2 separate regions of the Homo sapiens genome follow, and region 2 is linked to region 1. Evidence: promoter capture Hi-C in 16 types of primary human blood cells and fetal thymus (Javierre and others, 2016). All regions are on one chromosome and are shown on one strand. The core of a region is centred on a gene start or on the middle of the fragment in contact, and the rest is flanking DNA. Distances in the headings are between cores, read along the strand shown. Region 1 holds the start of MAP3K7 (mitogen-activated protein kinase kinase kinase 7). Region 2 overlaps BACH2 (BACH transcriptional regulator 2).

Region 1 (7,856 bases), core at 3,405-5,904:
ATAAAGCGCCTTACATTTTGCTGAAGGAGAGACACAATTTCAGTTACTGGTAAGTACCATGAAAGATAATAGAAATGACAAAAGATCTAGGTTGTTCAGGGAATGCTTCTCTAAGGAAGTGTTAATAACATTTGAGGTGGGACTTGACTGGTGAGGAGTCAGTCATCTTAAGTTATGGGGGAACAGCGCTTTAGGCAGAGGAACAACTACAAAGAAAATTCATCTTAGTGACTTTCCCAACCCACGATGGTCACTTTATTCAAAACCTAGTTTTAAACTTGTCCCTACTCAATGGAACCTTCTGTGATTAACTCTATTTTCAAATTATGGCTTAAGTGTTTAATTTACACTATATTCAGTTTTAAATTTGTGGTCTATAGTTAACTGTTCTGTGTTTACTCCAGTCTGATATCATACTAAGTCAGACATTTTAAGGAGGTAATCCTAGGATTCTTCTATCATCTTTTTTTTTTTTTTTTTTTTGAGACAGAGTCTCCCTCTGTTGTCCAGGCTAGGGTGCGGTGGCATGATCTCAGCTCACTGCAACCTCTGCCTCCTGGGTTCAAACGATTCTCATGCCTCAGCCACTCAAGTAGCTGGGATTACAGGCCTGTGCCACCACACCCAGCTAATTTTTGTACTTTCAGTAGTGACGGGGTTTCTCCGTGTTGGCCAGGGTGGTCTTGAACTCCTGGCTTCAAGTGATCTGCCCGCACTGGCCCTCCAAAGTGCTCGGATTACAGGTGTGAGCCACCGCACCAAGCCCTATTTATCTTTTATAGTACCTCAGAGTATTACGCACAGATGAGAATGTTCATTAAATGCTCAGGACCAACTACACTAAAAAGGAAATCAGTATTTTGTTTCCCCTTTCCCATATTAGGTTTGGTTATAGAGTACTTCAGAAAGTACTGAGTGACACTGTAAATCCAGTGGAAAGGGCAACTGACTCACAAGTGAGAAGTCTCATATTCAATTCCCAGCTTTACCATTTACTTAGGCATGCGGCTTCTGGCAAGTCAAACTCTATGACTGCTTGTCAATATCTGTACAATGGGATATCATTTGCCCTGTCAACCCAGGATTAGTTGGTCACCAACTGAATTCTATAGGAGACCATGATCAGTCTTTAAAGAACTGCTAAGCTTACTATAGAAAACAGTTAAATACTGGAAAACATGAATGTGTTTTCATTTTAGAACTGGAAAAGACCTTAAATGATCTTGTTCAGTCAGTTTACATGAGTAACCACAGGCCCAGAAAAATGTGGTGACTTCCTCAAAGTTACAAAAATATATTATGGCAGAATCAGTACAGCATCTAAATTTTCTTTTTCAGTCCAGAACACTTTCCACTATACTACCCTGTGTAACACTTCTTGCAACCCATCCCCTCTTTTATTCCAACATTCTCTACAGCCAGTTCTAGATGGTAAACACTAAATGATGTTTAAAAAGTACCTAGGCAGATTTCTGAGGCTGAGACCTTACCTAATTTGACTGAATTGAATTGAATCTAAGATGTGCCAAACTAATACTACTGAGTTACAATATTAGAAATGCAAGATCAGCTAATGTCTTAGAAATATGTATCTACTAAATGGCTGCATATTTGGCCTGTAGTTGAATTATTATTTTTTTTACAGTTTCTAATTATATTGATATAATACAATTCAATTACATTGAGAAATACATGATTTTCTTAATTTAGAAGGTAATATTCTCATACAATATAAAATATTGGAAGCAACATAAAATAGTTTTTGTTTCTGGTCATCTTCCTCTGTTTATCTTACAATTGAACTGGAAGTGTAATCTAAGTTGACAAATAGCTAATAAGTGTTCATGGTTCACCCTGGATTGTGTAACACTGGTTTAATGTATGCAAATGAAGAAGATGATGGAAATTATGTAATGCTTTCAATATCAGAAAGGTCCAAATTCAATCTTTAATGCAAAAATGAACTAAGTATTAAACATGAAAGGGAATAAAACAAACAAAAAACCCAAATGACTGCCTGATATTAGAAACAAATTTTCATCTAAAAACAAAAACCTACTCCCAGAAATTTCCTAAACACACACACACCCACATACACACAAAGATTGAAACATTATCTAAACTGAGAGAAGGGTCTTGGAAACACAGAAACCTAACCAGAAGCGAAATAGCTTTAGGGGAAGAACATCAAAATGATAACTACCTCCTTAGTAATTTGTTTTTCCCTGAATCAAGAATGTAAAAAGCTTTAGAAAGTAGCATTCAAAAACTAAGGTTGTAAGAACCAAATGAAGTAAGTTTGTGAAAGCATTTAGTAGACCATAAAGCACAAGTTATTATTATATAACAATTTGTAGTCTACAAGCATAGCAATTCACCACAGAGCAGACGTAAACGCTTATTTAAAAACTGCAATTCTTGTATACTGACTCACTGAATTTTTATTCTTAAAAAAGAATATTAGCCATGAAAGCTGCATCAACTATCCACTTCTGGAAAAGGAATTTATCATAGCCTCAATGTAAAAAAAAAGAAACTAAAAACATTTCCCCCTCTTTTCAAAATACAGGTCTTCTTTTAGCCATATGACCTTAAAGCAGGTCACATTTCCTCTCTGGAACTAGGTTTCCTAATATGTGTCAGGCCCTGTGGTAGGTGTTTTGCATATAATGTCTACTAAGATCTGTTATGCAGATAAAATGAAACAGAATTTATTAGCCCTTTCTTAGAGTAAACTAAAATTCAAAGGGGTTAGGAAACTTGCCCCAAATCACACAGCTAATAAATGGCATATCTGATACACTGAACTTTCCTCTAACTCCAAAGACCTTGCTCTTTCCACCATATTATCTTGTAAAATGAGGATATTCTCAATAATCTCTAAAGTTACTTTATGTGATAAAACATATATAATTCAGTAATCCATTACTCTTCCAAAACATGCACAGGAAAAAAAATTTATTTGTTGAACGTTATCTCACTACTTTGAACTTGCTGACACTTAAAAATAATTTTAGAATTTTAAAGTAGACATAACTCGTTGACAATCTATAATATTTCACTAGGTTTTTCATGGACTATATAACGCAAAGTGCTTAATAAATTTAAAAAATGGCAAATAAATGGTAAGAGATAGTATTTTCAACCAAAGTTTTTAACAAGTTCTAAAGTGTCTTTAAAAAATATATATGCAGTTTTTACTTTTCTAAATTTTATAGTCATTAGAACCCAATTTACCTGTTAATTTGAAAAACGACGCTTTAAAGTCACTTTGAAATATCTTGTTCTAAAATAAATTACTGCAGAATAAAGAAAGGATATGGGTTTTCTGATAGCGATTTCTAGTCTAATATTATATTCTGATTGTCACCGAAATCATTCGTTATCTCTTCAGAATATGCTACTTGAAACATCTTTTGATCGTAGACCAGTCTATGTTACTTATGGTGAAATTCACCTACATTAGCCCAACTGAAAGCCGAGCATTTAAACATTACGAGTATTGCTGTGCGGTATCGGAGAAATTGAGAACCATTCGGTGCTAAGGGAAACACTTTATTAGACTTGATGATCTACTAATTTAACAAGCATTTATTGAGCATCCCCTACATGCCAGGTACTGAAGTAGAAGTCGAATATAATACAATCTTTGGCCATTAAGAACATTACGTCCGGCCGGGCCCGGTGGCTCACGCCTGTAATCCCAGCACTTTGGGAGGCCGAGGCGGGTGGATCATGAGGTCAGGAGATCGAGACCATCCTGGCTAACAAGGTGAAACCCCGTCTCTACTAAAAATACAAAAAATTAGCCAGGCGCGGTGGCGGGCGCCTGTAGTCCCAGCTACTCGGGAGGCTGAGGCAGGAGAATGGCGTGAACCCGGGAAGCGGAGCTTGCAGTGAGCCGAGATTGCGCCACTGCAGTCCGCAGTCCGGCCTGGGCGACAGAGCGAGACTCCGTCTCAAAAAAAAAAAAAAAAAAAAAAGAACATTACGTCCAGCGGACTGAAACTCCAGAACGGCTACGATCTTCGCTGAAACTACTACTTACAGATACGAGAACTGGTGGACCACACTATCTCACCAGTTCATTCTCCTGTTTATCACCGGAATATCAAATCCAAAATCAAGAGTACCCAAGAGAGGAAAAAAGGCAGCTACTCCCGAGCAGTTGAGCTCAGAGAGTAACCCCCACTCCCACGTTACTGAGGGCTGTGGGGTCTCCCGGGTGGACCCCGCAGGGTCCCGCGAATTAGAGGGGCCCCGGGAGGCACCTTCAGAGCCGGCACCAGGCAGAGGCGGGGGCGGGGCAGGCCGGGACCGGCGTCTCCATGCCGGGCCTCGCTCACCTCTTCCACCTCGATCTCCTTGTAGTCGATCTCTTCAAAGTTGAGGACCTGGGAAGGGGCTTCGATCATCTCACCGGCCGAAGACGAGGAGGAGGAGGAGGCGGCAGAGGCTGTAGACATGATCCCTCGCGGCGCCCGGTGGGGCCGGGAACGGTGCCACCCGGACAATCCGGGTGAGACCCGCGCCCACCCGCCTCCGGACCGACCCTCAGCCTGGAGCCGCGCAGTCCTACTACCCGGCGATCCGTGGCGGGGGTAGAGGCAGCGGCCACAGCCGTGTCCGGCTCTGGCTCCGCTGCGTTTTCCGCCGACGGGCCCCGCCCACTACACTTCCGGTTCCGGGCTGAAATCGGAAACAGGAGGAGGGCCGTAAACTCCGGGGTAGGGGAGGGGAGAATTTTGTGACTTGGAAAGAAAAGGAGGGACAGGTTGGGGGTGGGGTGGAGTAAGCTAAGAAGCAAACTTGGACCTCTAGAACAAATTTCGCGAGACCTTTATTACAGGGCCTCAGCAACCGGATGATACCGCGAGAGAGGACGCCTGACGTAATTAAAGTGCGCGAACGGAAGTGGCGCGGAACATGACGGAAAATCAGTACGGTTGGTCCCTTAAGGACCAGCGGGAAAGATAAAAGCTGGGGTTTAGTCTGTGCTGCGTGAAATATGTCTTGGCCTCACTTCCTGTCCTCTGAGCTGCCTGCAGCCGGGCGAGGTGGTGTTGAACTGTGTTTTTTGTGACGAAGCTTACTTTTAAGTTTCATCCCTAAACTAAGTTGACCTGTTTCTTTAAGACGGCTTGCAAAATGTGTTTTCCTCAATGTGGGATATGGAAAGAAGCAGTTGCTCCTGTTATTTTGAGCTAGTACCTGACGCTATGAGAAATTCTAAAAGAGCGAATCAGATCATGCAACATGAATAACTATGGAGGCTGAGTGATCAAGAACAGAAGTTAATATTTTGGTGTTACAAACTTTCCACGGATTAGGTGAATAAGATATTTATAATTTGGTGTGTTCATCTCAAGTTATGGATTACGAGTGCGGGGCACTAGTGCTTTAGATTGGTAAATGAATCATCAACAGTCGCCTTGAAAATCGAATATTTTTGTCACCATTTTCAGGACATGAGAAAACACGCTGAGAGTTTAAAGCAATTATGGTCCTCACAAACTAGATCATTCTGTCCCCAAGATGGTCAGTATTGCTCATGTTGTACTACCAGCACAAGTTTTAGTTTTAAACTAACTGTTGAATTTTATATAGTCCGTTTGACATAAAGCCTAACTGTGGAATTATGTTAAACACATTTGGGATTGCAAATAGATCATTGGATTTGACCATCAAGAAGTTACAAACTCCTGGGAAACATTCTGTCACTTTTTATTCGTAGTTCTAGTGACACGCAGTGACAGTTTGATGAGTGGATAAAAAAATGAAAGAAACGATAATTTCTTTTCACTGTACACTCTCTCTTTGCATGCTCTTACCCAAGGTCTCTGTTTCTCATACTATTTTTATAATGATGACTCCTAATCTCCAAATACTCAAGATTTTTCCTGAATTCTGGACCTATTGGTCATCTCTACTTAGACAAACACCTAAACTTCAAGATACCACAGCAAATTCAAAAGTTGTCACCCACCACAAATATATTCCTATGTTATTTTCCTATGTCACTTAAGGATGCCATCACCCAGTTGGTTGTCCAAGTGAGAAATCAGGGCATGTGAAATGATGCGTGGTGCACTGATACCCAGTAGAAGCTGATATAATCAGTGGGACAGTCATTTTCACCTGTCATTCCCCTTGCATTTCCAAACAAGGATGGTCACTTCTTACCTTGTGCTATAACTCTGCAGGTCTATATCCGATTTCCTTTTAACACCTTGATCTTGCTGCCAGGTGGGAACTCAATAAATACTTAGATATTCTGTACAAATGAATAGCTTTTGTCAGTCCTCCCTTTCCCTGGAGTGTAAGATATGTTTCCTGTACCTTCAGTTTAGGACTGGAATCTTGACAAAGGACTAATTAATTACCACAGCCATGATGCAGTTCTCCTGCTTGATTTTTCCCCCCAAAATTTTGTTACAAAAATGTCAAATATAGAGAAAAGTTGAAAGAATTTATGGTGAACACCTATATGCCCACCACCAGGATTCTACCTTTAACATTTTACTATACTTGCTTTATCATAATATACATATGTGCATCTCATCTCTCCATCCATATTTACATCCATCTACCATTTTGCTAGATGCATTTCAAAGTGAATTGATTACATGATTTTGAATATCTTCTACCCCAACACTTCTATGTTTTATCCACTGATTTGGACTTCTAATATTGATGCCAGTCTAAAATCAATTTTTGTCCAACTTGCTTGCAGATTACTTTTTTCTTTTTTGTCTGCCTGCGCCTTTTCCCTAGCTTCTAGTAATAGATGGAAAGTTTCATCAGTGTTTATGTCTCTGGGTTCAGTCATTCCCAAGGTCCAATCCATCTCTTACATTCTGTGATTTGGTTATGTGAGCTAGTAAATTACCATTTCATTTAAGCTGGTCCAAGTTGTATTTTTGTCACTTGTAACCAAATAATCCTAAGTAATAAAGTTTAAATGCAGAGGAATGATGGAGGGGAGCTGAACCTCTCTCAGTTCACTTCAATTTTGACTTTGCATTTCCTTTAACTTTCATGAATTAAGGATAGAAACTTGACCTCAGAATTTCATGTCAACTTCAGTCACCAGTCTGTGTGTCTCCACACGTTTCCGGATACATATCAAAACTATTTAAGTAAATTCCTTGAAGTCCCTCCGAGTTTGAGCACCCTCCACCATTCTCCCTCATGTCAGCACCCTAATAACTACTCTCTAACTTCCAACTCTGTCTTCAATTTTGGCCCTTTTATACTCTCCAGGGGTTGAGAGGACAAGGGTTTCAAAATCCATTTCCCACCACCTCTTTGCTTGTTCTAAATGAGATTCTGATCTTATTTGGCTCATTTTGGGTGTAGGGATATCTGGGACCTATTTTAATGGAGGCTTAGCAGAAACTGGGACTAAAGTAACACCACTTTAATGTTCTGGGTCATATATATGTCAGACAAGTGTTCCATATTTCCATCATAGGCTTGATGATAACATCAATAATTGAGTTTCCATTATTCTCTTCTGCCTTTTGTGGTATTTGCTATATTCTACAATAGTGTTTTTCAATCTTTTTTTTCATTATTGTTCTTTTAAGGAGCCTTTTTAGACATCTTAATGCCCCTCCTCAAAGTTTTAATACCTCAGATACACTGTATATCTATTTATGTATTGTATGTATATTTGTGCTTTCTATGTAAAAAGAGTAAGATTTTTTCTCTCTCCAGTTTTTGCCCCCTGTGGAGGTGTTATTGCCTCCATTGAGAATGCATGTACTAGCAGTTTCATTTTTCACATGACACATCACAAAGTACAACCGAGAGCATCTCTTGGTAGCCATCTCAGAAGAGCAGTTAAACATTCT
Region 2 (7,856 bases), core at 1,942-4,441, 660 kb before region 1:
GCTCGGGCAGGGAGGAGCTGTACACCGTCAGAGGAGATCTAGGGACAAGAGCGGCTCTGCCTCGAGGAGGAGGATTGGTATATGTCACCTCTTCCCCAGTCCCAGCACAGCCTAGTGGGATATTTTGCAAGACAGTACCCCAGCTCTGCAGTGGCAGCAACAGTAGCAGTTGGCCCCTTAAACATGGGTCCAGAGCAGGACTGGAGCTTTGTGCTCAGCCTGAGGTCAGATGTGCTTCCTGTCTATAAAGGAGAGGTTGACAAGAAACTTTTCAGGCTTTTCCTCTCACCAGTTCATTTCTTGAGGATGAACCAGTTGGATTTTTAATTCATCAATGGCATGGAAATAAAATATTGATTAAAACACTGGCAAACACTCGCATGCCTTTTTTGTATCCCTCTGGGATGATTCATGAGTAGTGGTGATGCCATGATTGTGCCCCTGCAGGAGCTTCCTGGGAGTGGTAGAAGCCAGCACCTCTTCCTCACCCTGCCCGCCCTCCGAGTGGTCCTGAGTCATCCGGGAGAGTGCTCTGTGATGTGCACTGACTGGCCAACCCATGAGGCTGCTCCGCGGGTTGCTACTTGGCCGATCTTGGCTCACTGCAACCTCCGCCTCCTGGGTTCAAGCCATTCTCCTGCCTCAGCCTCCCAAGTAGCGGGGATTACAGGTGCCCACCACCAAGCCCGGCTAATTTTTGTGTTTTTGTATTTTTAGCCTTGTGGTAGCGAGGCTGGTCTTGAACTCCTGACCTCGGGTGATCCGCCCATCTCGGCTTCCCAAAGTGCTGGGATTACAGGCGTGAGCCACTGCGCCCAACCCTGAGTTTTTAGAGCCATAAAGGTGGACTCAATTCCCATGGAAAGAGCCTCTTAGCTTCCCCGTCCTCCACCCCATGGCCAGAGTGGCCCCCAACCCTGGCCACACACTTGATAATAAAGGCTTCAGGTTATAAGGAGAATCAATTTGGTTGAAAGTTATAAGGCTCGGCATCATCTATGTCCTATGAGATAAAAGCCACAGGAAATTCAGGCACTGGCCCCTGCCTCTGACCTCATTCCCCGCTTCTCACTTGTAGCCCAGCTGTGGCAGCTCTGCCGCTCCTACCTGCTGTTGCCCACCCAGCAGTCTGCTGCTGGACAGTGTCCACCTATCCTGTGGCTGCCTTTTGGGGACTCATTATTTTTATGGAGGCAGTTCCAACATATCTTCTCGGCCAACCCCATTCACTCACCATGCCTTTCTTTGTGGCAGCCCTGTAATTATAGTAACGGTGGGGGGGTAGATGATAGGGTTTTTGTTTTTGTTTTTGTTTTTTTTAAAAGACAGGTCTCGCTCTGTTGCCCAGGCTAGAGTGCAGTGGTGTGATCTTGGCTCACTGCAACCTCTGCCTCCCGGGTTCAAGCAATTCTCCTACCTCAGCCTTCCCACTAACTGGCACTATAGAGGTGCACCACCACTCCCAGCTAATTAAAAACAATTTTTTTTTTTTGTAAAAATGAGGACTTGCTATGTTGCCCAGGCTAGTCTGGAACTCCTGGCTGCAAGTGATCCTCCTGCCTCAGCGCCCCCATAGCACTTACATAGATTACAGGTGTGAGCTACCATGACCGGCCCCCAAAATGTGCCTTTTTAAGGGGCATACTATATTCCACGTGCTCACATTATCTATACCTTGTACAACTTGTCAAGTTGTTATTGTTCATTTTCATCTTATAGATCAGACAAGGCTCAAAGAGATTTTCTCCACAGTTAAAGATTACACGGCTGAAGTGCCTGCTGGAATTCAAATCCATATCCAGCTGCTCTGAGGCCCACAGTCCTTTCAGAAATCCTTGTTCTCCTTTCTGTAAAAGTCAGCAGCCCCTGGGCAATGATTTATTTGTACATCTCTCTGCCCAACTAGCCTGTGAAAGCTGTAAGGGTAAGGTATTTGACATCTTGGATGCTTAGCATGTAACACAGTGTTGGTTGAATAAATATATATTTATGTATAAACACCAAAGGCAATACCTTACCCATTGCTTCCAATTTTCCAGTCTTTATTTCTTATTCACTTTCTGTCATGTTGTGTCAATAAGTTTGTCAATAGGTTTCAGAGGCCTCTATGGCAACTTTTTTTGTAATTTCAATTTCTTTCACTCTGAAAAGTCTTTACAGGGTTGTCAAAAACACAGCACAAATGGAGGTTTTAAAAAACAAGTTTGAGGCTGGGTGTGGTGGCTCACGCCTGTAATCCCAGAACTTTGGGAGGCCGAGGTGTGGGGATCATGAGGCCAAGAGAGCGAGACCATCCTGGCCAACATGGCGAAACCACGTCTCTACTAAAAATACAAAAATTAGCTGGGTGTGGTGGTGTGCGCCTGTAGTCCCAGCTACTTGGGAGGCTGAGGCAGGACAATCGCATGAACTTGGGAGACGGAAGTTGCAGTGAGCCAAGATTGGACCACTGCACTCCAGCCTGGCAACAGAGCACGTCTCAAAACAACACAACAACAAAAACAAGTTTGAGCTGGGCCTGGTGGCCCACCTGTAGTCCCAGCTACTTGGGAGGCCGAGGTGAGAGGATTCTTGCGGCCAGGAGTTCACAGCTGCGGCGCACTATGATGATGCCTGTGAATAGCCATTGCACTCCAGCCTGGGCAACATAGCAAGGCCTTGTCTCTACAAAGAAGAAAAAACAAAGTCTGAAGGGCCCAGTGTAAAATGTAATGTTTCCAGTGACTGCTAGCATGTCTCTGAAGGTTTCCATTCACTGCTTCGGGATGAAGGGCACTGTCTCAGGGATGCACTTATCTTCAAGAAGAAAGAGTAAGAACTAGCCATGGAGAATCAGCAATGCCTCTTTGTGGCTAAGCAGGCCAGTGGCAGATGTGTGTCAGGATCTGCAGGAACCAGGGACGGGTGTGGAGACAGAAGGCGTCATGCTCTTGAGTGAAATGAAAGACACTTGCGTAATGGGATGTGTGGCTTTCTCCATCTCTTTGGGCCTTGATTTTTTGACACCAGGAAGTATTGTGTTCACTTGTACCACGAAGGCATAGGTGCTCAGTGAGGAGAATTGGAAACCCATTTCTGCTCACGGCACCTTCACCAGCTGCTGTTAAACATTAAGTACAATCTTGCTAATGCATCCCAAGTGGTGGGGCAGAGTTGGGTGAGGTGGTGGGTTGGAGAAGAGTGAAAGACTCTAAAATGATTTCAAAGAACAGCTCAGTTATTTCCAAATACATACAACAAAACTGCTGGCAGGGCCTGGTGTAGAAGGAACCTGTCCTCACTGCCCCAGAGGCAGATACAAATTTCCCATAAGAAGCACATGTAAAGTAGGAAAGAAAATGGCTGCTGTCCACCTGGGGCTGGACAGTGCTTAAAAGCTCTTTTGTAGCCGCGATTCCCAACCTTTTTGGCACCAGGGACTGGTATCGTGGAAGACAAATTTTCCACGGACCAGAGGCAGCGGGGGTGGGGGGATGTTTTCGGGATGACACCGTTCCACCTCAGATCATCAGGCATTAGAGTCTCATAAGGAGCTGCAACCCAGATCCCGCACATGCACCGTTCACAGTAGGGTTCGCGCTCCTATGGGAATCCAGTGCCACCGCTGATGGGGCAGGAGGTGGAGCTCAGGCAGTAATGTTCACTCCCCAGCTGCTCACCTCTTGCTGTGCGGCCTGTTCCTAACAGGTCATGGACCGGAACCAGTCTGCGGCCCAGGGGTCGGGGACGCCTGTTTTGCAGGACGCAACAGCTGGTGAGGTTTATTTTCCTTCAATGCATGACCATTATTTGTATCACAAGAGCAGATGTCAGGGTTGAAGGTGCACATGACCATCAGTTCTAAATTACCAGGTTTTCCCACAGAAAATTTTGGGACTCTGACCCACCTGTTTTTCTCAGAGTGGATTAACTTCACATCTTCAGGCGTAGGTAATCCGCCTCTTGTACCGAAAATGTTATGACTGCGACGTTGTCACAGCAGCACACATTTGCAAAACCCATGACCTGCTCTCAGGAAGCCTTCCTTGACTCCATAGGTGCCCATGGAGACTCGCCCGAGGGAGCAGAACTTGGCAGTTTTTAATTTCCGTTTTCCCATCTGGCGGTCGCATGCACTCCTTGAAGCGTGAATCTCGGCAGCACAGCCCTGCCCTGCCCGGATACCATGCGCATGCACTGGTTACAGCCTCGCTGACAGCTCAGACCCCCCTGCTCTGCTCTAGTGGCTTTCTCTCACCTCCGAGCTCCAGTCCAGTGTTCGCTCATGGTCACTCGACCTGCCCACCATTTGATATCTTGTTTTCTCTTTACATCAAAATCGAAGACATAACTATCAAATACACTTTTAGAATACAACTTTTAAACTGTACAGTCATGCATGGCATAACCATGTTTTGGTCAATGATGGGACGAATATATGACAGCGGTTCCATAAGATTGTAAACCCTATTTTTACTGCAACTTTTCTATGTTAAGATACACAACTACTTACCCTGGTGTTACAATTGCCTACCATATCCAGTACAGTTACATGCTGCACAAGTTTGCAATCTAGGAACATCTAGTCTAGGTGTGTCATAGGCTTTCTCATCTAGGTTGGTGTGGCACACCCTGATGTTCTCACAATAGGAAATTGCGTAAGGATGCATTTCTCACAACGTACCCCCTTCACTAACCAATGCATGACTGTATGGATTCCTCAACCACAATTCTAAACATCTTTCCTTGCAACTCACTGCATCTTGGTGTTGGCTTAATGTTCTTTCTCATTTACTTTCATTTAGTTTTTAAAAAATTCAGCCTATTTTGGATATAATTGCAGATTCACATGCAGTTGCAAGAAATGATACCCATCACCCAGTTTTCTCCCGTGGTAACATTCTGCATAGCGATAGCACAATATCAAAACCGAGAAATTGGGTTTAAAGCCTTTTATCTACTCTCACAGGCACTAGGGATTTTTAAAATTCAGAGTTTAGGAATCACATTAATATTATCCAATTTTAAAGATTCCTAATCAGATTAATCAGGTAGCAAGTAAGGGTCCAAACTAGAGGAAGAGAAATGGCCTCTAGGAAAAAAGATTTCCTGAGGTTTCTCACTCTGTAATTTGGAACATAGGGATCAGAGGCAGAGAAAATCAGTTTACAATGCATAATGATATGTCTTTATTTCATCAACAGAAATGGTGTCTAGACAAAATTCAGTTAACACTAGCAATTCAATTGAGTGAAAACTTTTTTTGCACAATAGTGTATTTACAATGAGTAAATGAAGTTTCAATTCATTAGTTCATAGCAATGCTTTTTTCCCCCAAAAGGTAAAAATTCTTAGTTACAGAGAATAAGCATCAACAGCCTTTCATTTTTTACAATAAAAACCACGAGAAAAACCACAATCACTTAGAAAAAAATAAGGACAAGCCTAAGAACTAGTACAATAAAATGATGCATTGAATTAAATTACATTAATCGCATAGAATCTGTGTAAAAAGTATGTAGAAAAACACCTGATGTAACCTGTTACAGTCGTTGACCAGTTATGAGAGGTACAGAGGGTTATACAGGTAGATATGTGTGAAAACTGTCCGTATTGTTCAACCTGGGGAGGAAGAGAAGAGGGGCTGCAGCCCCTTGCATACACTGAGAAGACCCTGTTTTGAATATGGCCTCTGGAGTTTGTAAGGCATATATTAGAGGTGCACTTGCATCAGACTGGTTCTGGAACAAATTGTCAAATTGTCACAGGCTCTCTTGGCCTCACTAGCAAAGGTGGTGCTTGCCTTGAATGGCTCACTGTGTCTAACAAGCACCTGAAGCTCCCAAATGCATATGGAATCTTCCTGATCACTCACTAGAGGTGCCATGTCTTTATGTCAGAGCGTGAAACGGGCATCCCAGGATTTGCACACACAAAATACATTGTTAGGACTTAAGGGGAGGTCATAGTTCTGCCTCCAAACATGTTTTGGTAGAAGACTGAGCATCCATCTGTAGGAAAACCCCTCTTTGTCCAAGTCCCTTCACTCTTTCGCAACATATGCGTCTGATTATTCCCATGGGAGCACTTGGCACTGAATGTGAGTCTACCTGAAATGAATGGTCTTGGTGCACACTTCTGCTTCTAAGAAGGGCCAGTGTTTTATCTGAGGTCAATAAACTGGAATGAGAATGAAAGTCAGAGCTGTTTATCCATTGCTTGACAGCAAAATGCATACACCGTGTCACAACATTAAATCAAAGCTATGAAAGTTGGCCTCTGCAACCAAGTGGGTATTCTTCACAAAATGGCAGCATCGTTTTCATATTACATTTAAAATGCACTGATATTCATTTGATAGAAATATCATCTCCCAGGGTGGAGTGTAGGAAAATACTATAAACTTTTCTTTGCAAGTAATGTTTTTGCACCGTCAGTTGAATAATTTATGCTCAATCTGCCACAATGAGACTTTTCTATGTACAAATGCTATTTGCACACACTATTTGTGTACAGATATGTTCTGTTCTACAGCATCGGTTTTGGACGCTGGGGTCATGAGATGGCTCAGGCAGTACTATAAACATACACTTTCAACACACAATGCCTCGTGCACACAGATTTCCTGTATGAATACCAACTCCACACAGGGCATTGTATTGTGGACTGACTCACCAGAAATTGCACTTCCAACACAGTCTTCAGTTTGGGGAAGAAACACTAACTCATGATACAACGAACAGCTTTATTCTTAGAAAACAAAAACAAAAACAAAAAACACCTTGTTCTTTAGTCTATTTACAGTCATTTGAGGACCAAACTTGATTCTTGCTCCTTCTGGATCTGAGACTCCTCCTAAACTGTAAGCAATAGTGAAGCAGTTTGAAGTCATTTCTAAGACAGCTCCTAGTTTAAATGGGGCATAATGTAGAGAAGTAGGTAGCCAAATAGGGACTTGAGAAAGCTTTGCAGGCAGCTCTTCCTCATTTTGAGAGGATTATGCTACTCCACAGGATGTCAAGCAGCTTCACGGGACAGGAGTTTTTGGTGTCTTAACAGGCTTATCATTTTCAAACCTTTGTCTGTTCCTTCTTTTTCTTCTTCTTTGATGGCAATCATAAAATATTAAAAGAGAAAATGTGGGTTTAGGCCTCTTGACAACAGCATTAAACTTCACACTGTGCACACTTCACTTTAGCCAGTCCTCTCATGAGTCTTGTCGCTGGTCCTGGCTCCTTTTGAAGGAGTAGTGGCAGTTGGCATACTAATCACTAGACTTTTGTTCCCTTCCTTGGAAAAGCAATGTAAGGATTACATCCCGAATTATAGTGCATCTTAAAAGCAGCAAACCTTTAGAAAGACAGTTAATAAATTACTCGCACAACATTCAGTTGCAGACACACAGAGTCAGGTTTTCCACTGCAGCATCATCTCTGATGCCTGAGTCATTGCTGGGAACTCAGAAGATAAATAGCAGGATGGCCTCGTAACTTTGTCGGTTTTTTTTTTTTTAAAGTTTTTCTAACTGTTTTGTTCCAGAATCAGTATGTAATAAAGTTCGATTTTAATCAAGGCACCCCCAGGTAACGCAGAGAAACAAACACATACAGCAAATCACTCACCTGTCCAAAGCCTGACCAACTTGAAAAGAGGTTGCCTGGATACACAAGCAGGACAAAGGCAGATCCAAGGGGAGGACTGGATTTAGGTGGGATGTTCATTAGTCTCAGGGTCACTCACCTCCACTGGCTCTGCCCCAACAACCATTCCTACCCCAGCCATTTGGAGACCCAAGCAGGCATCCTCCTAAACAGCCCGTGGTTGGAGGGTCTCTTATTTTTGTAAGAAAAGAGCCTTAAGAACAACCAAATGTTACT

What was found. The method cuts DNA at HindIII sites, captures the fragments that hold promoters and counts their contacts. A CHiCAGO score of 5 or more calls a contact.
Region 2: a fragment that was not itself captured here is called in contact with the fragment with the promoter of MAP3K7 in region 1 in 5 of 17 cell types (M0 macrophages, M1 macrophages, monocytes and 2 more); the score reaches 10.5 in M0 macrophages.

What each region holds. Positions count from the first base shown.
Region 1 is chr6:90,582,418-90,590,273 of GRCh38, forward strand. MAP3K7 (mitogen-activated protein kinase kinase kinase 7) reads right to left here and starts at 4,655. Exons shown (of 17, transcript NM_145331.3): 1 at 4,347-4,655. The coding sequence starts at 4,466. LOC124901363 (a long non-coding RNA gene) reads left to right here and starts at 4,377. Exons shown (of 2, transcript XR_007059680.1): 1 at 4,377-5,538. RefSeq lists silencers at 4,475-4,594, 4,591-4,787. The HindIII fragment of the contact is 2,842 bases long and covers 2,245-5,086 here.
Region 2 is chr6:89,921,388-89,929,243 of GRCh38, forward strand. It overlaps BACH2 (BACH transcriptional regulator 2), which reads right to left. Exons shown (of 9, transcript NM_021813.4): 9 at 5,141-7,856. Among named protein-coding and RNA genes, the nearest start is that of GJA10, 31 kb to the left of the region's middle. RefSeq lists a silencer at 6,423-6,717. The HindIII fragment of the contact is 7,500 bases long and covers 1-6,941 here.